Regions from separate parts of the Homo sapiens genome. Here region 2 is linked to region 1. Evidence: promoter capture Hi-C in human tissues and cell types (Jung and others, 2019). All regions are on one chromosome and are shown on one strand. Each heading gives the region's core, a stretch centred on a gene start or on the middle of the fragment in contact. The rest is flanking DNA. Distances are from core to core; before and after follow the strand shown.

The links. The method cuts DNA at HindIII sites, captures the fragments that hold promoters and counts their contacts. A contact is called where the count stands out against the background at its distance.
Region 2: a contact is called between a fragment that was not itself captured here and the fragment with the promoter of ZNF737 in region 1, in 1 of the 25 tissues and cell types used here (mesendoderm cells).

Annotation. Positions count from the first base shown.
Region 1 is chr19:20,564,193-20,567,922 of GRCh38, reverse strand. It overlaps ZNF737 (zinc finger protein 737), which reads left to right and starts at 2,142. Exons shown (of 4, transcript NM_001159293.2): 1 at 2,142-2,285. The coding sequence starts at 2,283. The region is part of intron 2 of LOC105372316 (a long non-coding RNA gene); the gene reads right to left. RefSeq lists enhancers at 2,290-2,339, 2,550-2,709. The HindIII fragment of the contact is 4,540 bases long and covers 299-3,730 here.
Region 2 is chr19:20,522,188-20,525,865 of GRCh38, reverse strand. The region is part of intron 2 of LOC105372316 (a long non-coding RNA gene); the gene reads right to left. Among named protein-coding and RNA genes, the nearest start is that of ZNF737, 42 kb to the left of the region's middle. The HindIII fragment of the contact is 4,311 bases long and covers 41-3,678 here.

The sequences.
Region 1 (3,730 bases), core at 893-3,392:
ACTATTTATTTGCATTCCATAAAATGCCAAGGAATTTTATACTTTGTGCAGGTCCTTGAATTTTACTAGGGTTAATTTCCCATTTTTGAAATAGGAACTGGGTTTTTACCTGCTCGAAGCCCCGGCTGACTAGTTCTTCAGTTTTATCCTGACTGGGCCACCTGGACAGCTGCTTTTTTCAGCGATAGGCTGATAGCTTTGAGCTTTATCAGTCAAGACATTGACTGGCATTGGGCCAGTCTGGAAGTCAGATTAGCATTTTCCTTTTCCGCTTACATTTATCTTGTAGCAACCAGCCCCTATCACGATACATTAACTTATAAGCAGTAAGCAAACACCATCCACTCCGGGAGATCCCTCAGCATCTCCTTTGCTGACTGGAATCCCCCGCAGCACTTCCCGCACAGTCAAAGGTTTAAACTGCACTAATTTAGATTCCCAATTCCCACAAAAACCAGTTCCCCTTGACCATTTAATCACCAAGAGGGAGAACTGGGGGAGTTCCCATCCCAGGATATGGGAAGTCCCTGAGCCCTCCAGCCCTGTCCTTCTAGTCAAAAAGGGGTACACTTTTGTTTTCAAATCCTATTTGTGATGCCAAAAATGTTCTGTGAGGCAAATGTGAGAGGGGAGAAACAAAGACACACACACAATACCATTAAGGGTAAACAACTTTTATCCCACGTAAATGGCAATGCAGACATAATAAAGTAATAATATAATAAGCAAATGATATAATAAGCAAATAAATATAATAAGCAGATTGATGTAATAAGCCAATCTTAATAAGACGAGGAAATGGGAAAAGATATATATATATATATATATATATATATATATATATTTTCCCTCACCAGACTATGGGGGATTCACCACCAGAGAGGGAGGCAACAGCCACAGCTCTAGAGTCAGCCACCCGTCCATCGTACACAGACAAGGAGAGGTCTTATGAAGCTTCAGGGCGGTCTGGGACCTTAGCTCTTTTGTAACGAGTTGTTTGGCATAAGGCCCAGTGATGAGAGCCCTTCACGACTTGCCTCAAGGAACACAAAAAGGTCAACCTTTTTTTGTGATTGTCTATTGTTTTTCAACAACTAATATATAGGAATAGATTGAAATAGAGATTTCTTCAATACAGCGCTGGATGAACACCTCAGGGGCTCACACAACCTGTTCTGGGACTTGGTGACAATTGTTTGTGTCCACATTCAATTGAGTTCAGATTTAATATGTGACTTTTCCTCCACAAATTCCCCTGTCTTGATGAATCGGCTCTGTCTAGGCAAAGGGTAAAATAAACCCCTTGGGCTGTTACACAACCTCCGCCTCCTGGCTTCAAGTGATTCTCCTGCCTCAGCCTCCGGTGTAGCTGGGACTACAGATGTGCACCCCCACACCCAGGTAACTTTTTATATTATTAGTTATTATTATTATTTATTAGTTATTATTAGAGATGGGGTTTCACCATGTTGGCTAGGCTTGTCTTGAACTCCTGACCTCAAGTGATCTGCTCACCTTGGCCTCCCAAAGTGTTGGAATTACCAGCGTGAACTATCCGTGCCTGCCTCTAAATGATTTCTATCTCCTATAGCTGTTGGAAATTAAAGATTGTTTCAAATTGAAAAAATAAAAAGAATGTGGACAAAAATAAAATATAAATAGTTTTTTAAAATTACGAGATATTACAAAATATATATGTAAATCTGGAGTGCTCAAAAATGACAAATTTGATTTATTTATAAGGTTTTATTAAAATTAGCTTTAATAGATTTTACCATTACCAAAGTAAAAGTTGATTTTCTGTTGAACAAAAATTTTATGTATTATTAATGACAGCAAAATACTTCTGTTCACCTTTTTAATACATTCAACAAGAAAGAGAGTAAACAAGAGATAAAATATTCCCATGCTCTGGGGTGGGCCTGGCTCAGCTCAGGGAGGAAGCACTGTTTGAAAAGCCAGCTGCTTAGGCTGGCACTCTTTGTTCACTTAACCCAGCATCTGATCATATCTTCTGTCACTCAGGGCCTGAGGGGGCGGGGATTTAAGCATTATCCAATCAGGGACGCTGGGCTGGAAGCCGTCCAATCAGGCACGCAGCCAGAGTGAAGCGGAAGGCTTCCGGGTTTTGCGGGGCCTTTGTCTCTGCAGCCGGAGCTCCAGGTCTTGTCTTCACTGCTGTGTGTCCTCTGCTCCTAGAGGCCCAGCCTCTGTGGCCCTGTGTCCTGCAGGTATTGGGAGATCCACAGCTAAGACGCCCGGGAGCCCCTGGAAGCCTAGAAATGGTGAGAGTGCCGGTCCGACATCCCGAGAGAGGGGGATAGGCTGGTTGGAACCGGTGGGAAGTGGCTGTGGCGGGACTCAGGCCTCTGCGCAGTCAGCTCCACAATCTGCACCCTGAGTTCTCCTTGCCCAGCTCGGCCTCAGTCCCGTTCAGCCATAATTTGGCGGCTACGCTGACAGCCGGGCCCCCTGGCGTCCTGTGTCTTCCCTGCGTAGTGACTGCTCTGGCCTGGAGCGCTCCGTGGGCAGCTCTGCAACCGCAGCCTCCCGTCTCTCCCAGAATGTGCAGGGACCACCAGAGGGTCGTCAGGGGAGAATCCTGACTCGGGGTGCAGGTTCATGAATGGGAAGAGCTTTGGTCCGTGGAGTTCACAGTTTCTGTTTTCTGCTATTCAAAATTTATGGGGCCGGGCGCAGTCGTTCACGCCTGTAATCCCAGCACTTTGGGAGGCCGAGGCAGGCGGATAACTTGAGGTCAGGACTTCAAGATAAGCCTGGCCCAAATGGGGAAACCCCATGTCTACTAAAAATGCAAAAATTAGCTGGGTGTGATGACAGATGTCTGTAATCACAGCTTCTCGGGAGGCAGAAGTGAGAGAATCGCTTGAACTCCGGAGGTGGATGTTGCAGTGAGCTGAGATCTTGCCACTGCACTCCAGCCTGCGCGACAGTGAGACTCCGTCTCAAAAAAAAAAAAAAAATTCCTGGTTATGTAATTACAGTTTAATTGGCAGTTTATAGTTGCTTAAGCCTGAATTTTGTTTCCCCTAATGTAGTAATTTCCCAAAAAATGCACATGAGCTTAGATTTTTTTTTTTTTGAGGTAGAAATCCAGGGACTAGAGCTTCTTCAGTCTAATTGCCTGCCACTTAATTATTTTCACACGCCACAGCGGACTGATTTTCCCTGGCATTTTCCACATGTGTCTCAAGCAAGGCCTCAAGTGTACCCCATGTTCCTCAATTTATTATTTTTATTTTTTTTTTTTTGAGACGGAGTCTCGCTCTGTCGCCAGAGCTGGAGTGCAGTGTCAGATCTCGGCTCACTGCAACCTCCGCCTCTCAGGTTCAAGCATTCTTCTGCTTCAGCCTCTGGAGTAGTTGGGGCTATGGGCACGCGACACCACGCCCAGCTAATTTTTGTATTTTTAGTAGAGATGGAGTTTCAGTATGTTAGCCAGGAATGCTAGTTACCAAGGAAAAAAATAGGGAAAATCTCTCTTCCATTTTGGCTGTAGACAATGAATATATTTCCACAGGAAAATGTGGTAGATAATTGATGAGTTACATAGATTCGTCAACACATTAGTTCCTCTTTTTGCAGGGGAAATTTGTGACAGTGAATATCTCAGTTCTATATCCTGTTGAGTTCTGAGTTAAATGCTAAATTATATGTGATGAAACATGGTACCTTCTAGAAGTGTTCCCATATGACTAATTTTTTACTA
Region 2 (3,678 bases), core at 947-3,446, 42 kb after region 1:
GGTGGAAAACAAAGATGCAGCCATTATTTTAAAAATTATAAATGTTCCTCATTTATAAATCTATATCCAAAATATGTAACGAAGGCCAGGCACAGTGGCTCAAGCCTATAATCCTAGTAATTTAGGAGGCTGAGGGGGCAGATCACCTGAGGTCAGGAGTTTGAGACCAGCCTGGCCCCATCTCTACTAAAAGTACAAAAAATTAGCTGGGTGTGGTGGTGGGTATCTATAATCCCAGCTACTCGAAAGGCTGAAGCAGGAGAATCGATTGAACCCAGGAGGCAGAAGTTGCAGTTAACCAAGATCACACCACTGCACTCCAGCCTAGGCGACAAAGCAATACTCCGTCTGCGGGAAAAAAAAAAAAAAAAAAAATGCAACACTGGACCTGGGAGGCATATTTGAAAATTCATCTTTATTATACCAGTATTCACAAAAGCCAAAAGTCTGAAGCAACCTAGATGTTCCTTGATTTATAAACGTATCAAAAAATGTAACATATACATGCGATGGAATATTATTCCACCTTAAAAAGAACAATCTTGTCACATTTTAAGATGAACATTGAGAATATTATGTCAGTTGAATTAATCCAGTAACAAAATTATGGATACCGTATGATTCCACTTATATGAGATATCTTAAGTAGTCAAAATCATAAAAACAAAAAGTGGAAGTTTTGTCTGCCAAAAGCTGGAGAGAGGGTAAAATGAGATGTTGTTACTTAATGGTTACTGAGTTTTAGTTTTGCAATATGTAAAGTTTCTAGAAATCTTTTGCACAACAATGTGAATATACTTAACATGCCTGAAGTGAACAGCATTTTTTTTTTTTTTTTTTTGAGACAGGGTCTCACTCTGTCACCCAAGCTGGAGTGTAGAGGCACAATTTTGACTCCTCCTCAATCTCCCATGTAGCTGGGACCACAGCTGCACACCACCATACCTGGCTACTATTAAGTTTTTTTTTATGGAGAGGGGTCTCCATGTATTCCCCAGGCTGGTCTCAAACTTTTCAGCTCCAGATATCCTCCTGTCTTGACCTCCCAAAATTCTGGGATTACAGATGAGAGCCACAACCACAGCTGGCTGTGAAATATACACTTCAATAAATTTAAGATGGTAAATTTTATGTTATGTGTTTTTAAAACAACGTTTTCAAGGAAAAACTGACAAAAATACAGAATGGTAAATCTTTTTAAAAATTAACTTCAAATCACAAAAGTGTTTCTCTCACAAAAAGAAAATATATATTCATCATTAAACACATCGTGATAATGACTATCTCCACGACTACTCACTTAGACAAGATAAAACTACCATCGAAAATCAGCTAACAAAGAATATGAGATAAGCCATAAGTAAAATTGGCATCGTATTTATAGATAAACACGCATGTCAGGCCTCTGAGCCCAAGCTAAGCGATCATATCCACTGTGACTTGCATGTATACATCCAGATGGCCTGAAGTAACTGAAGAATCACAAAAGAAGTGAAAATGGCCTGTTCCTGCCTTAACTGATGACATTACCTTGTGAAATTCCTTCTGGCTCAGAAGCTCCCCCACTGAGCATCTTGTGACCCCCGCCCCTGCCCACCAGAGAACAACCCCCTTTGACGGTAATTTTCCATTACCTACCCAAATCTTATAAAATGGCCCCACCCCTATTTCCCTTCGCTCTCTTTTTGGACTCAGCCTGCCTGCACCCAGGTAATTAAAAAGCTTTATTGTTCACACGAAGCCTGTTTGGTGGGCTCTTCACATGGACACGCATGACATTTGGTGCCAAAAACCCAGGACAGAGGTAATCCTTCGGGAGGCCTGTCCCCGCCCTCACTCCGTGAGGAAATCTACCTATGACCTCGGGTCCTCAGACCAACCAGTCCAAGGAACATCTCACCAATTTCAAATCGGGTAAGCGGTCTTTTCACTCTCTTCTCCAGCCTCTCTTGCTACCCTTCAATCTCCCTGTCCTTCCAACTCCAGTTCTTTTTCCTCTCTAGTACAGACAAAGGAGACACATTTTATCCGTGGACCCAAAACTCCGGTGCCAGTCTTAGACTCAGGAAGACAGTTTTCCCTTGGTGTTTAATCACTGTGGGGATGCCTGCCTGATTATTCACCCACATTTCATTGGCGTCTGATCACCGTGGGGACATCTGCCTTGGTCATTCACCCACATTCCCTTGGTGGCAAGTTAATTGCGGGGACACCTGCTTTGGATGCTCACCCATATTGCAGCCCAGGGCTGCTCACCACCCTCTTCTCCATGTCTCTACCTTTCTCCTTAAACTTACATCCTTCACTATGGGCAACATTCTGACCTCCATTCCTGCATCTTCTCCCTTAGCCTGTGTTCTTAAAAACTTAAAACCTCTTCAACTCTCACCTGACCTAAAACCTAAGCATCTTATTTTCTTCTGCAACACCACTTGGCCCCAATACAAACTCTATAATGGTTCTAAATAGCCAGAAAATGGCACTTTTGATTCCTCCATTTTACAAGACCTGGATGATTTTTGTCAAAAAAGACAAATGGTGTGAGATGCCTGATGTCCAGGCATTCTTTTACACATTGGTCCCTCCCTAATCTCTGTTCCCAATGCGACTCATCACAAATCCTCCTTCTTTCCCTCCCACCTGTCCCTTCAGTCCCAACCCCAAGCATCACTGAGTCTTTTCAATCTTCCTTTTCTACAGACCCACCTGTCCTCTCCTCCCCAAGCTGCTCCTCGCCAGGCCAAGCCAGGTCCCAGTTCTTCATCAGCCTCCGTTCCCCCACCCTATAATCCTTTTATCACCTCCCCTCCTCACACCCGGTCTGGCTTACAGTTTCATTCCATGACTAGCCCTCTCCCACTTGCCCAACAATTTCCTCTTAAAAAGGTGGCTGGAGCTGAAGCCATAGCCAAGGTTAACACTCCTTTTTCTTTATCTGACCTTTCCCAAATCAGTTAGCATTTAGGCTCTTTTTCATCAAATATAGAAACTCAACCCAGTTCATGGCCCATTTGGCAACAACTTTAGATGGTTTACCGCCCTAGACCCAGAAAGGGCAGAAGGCCGTCTTATTCTCAATATGTATTTTATTACCCAACCCACTCCCAACATTAGAAAAGCTCCAAAAATTAGATTCTTGCCCTCAAACCCCACAATAGGACTTAATTAACCTTGCCTTCAAGGTGTACAATAATAGAGAAGAGTAAAAATTACTTGCCTCTGCTATGAGACAAAACCCAGCCACACCTCCAGCACACAAGAACTTCAAAATGCCTAAGCCACAGTGGTCAGGCATTCCTACAGGACCGCCTCCCTCAGGATCTTGCTTCAAGTGCCAGAAATCTGGCCACTGGGCCAAGGAATGCCTGCAGCCCAGGATTCCTCCTAAGCCATGTCCCATCTGTGCGGGACCCCACTGGGAATCAGACTGTCCAGCTCGCCTGGCAGCCACTCCTAGAGCCCCTGGAACTCTAGCCCAAGGCTCTCTGACTGACTCCTTCCCAGATATTCTTGGCTTAGCGGCTGAAGACTGACACTGCCTAATCACCTCAGAAGCCTCCTGGACCATCACAGATGCTTTAGGTAACTCTTACAGTGGAAAGTGAGTCCATACCCTTCTTAATCAATACGGAGGCTACCCACCCCACATTACCTTCTTTTCAAGGGCGTGTTTCTCTT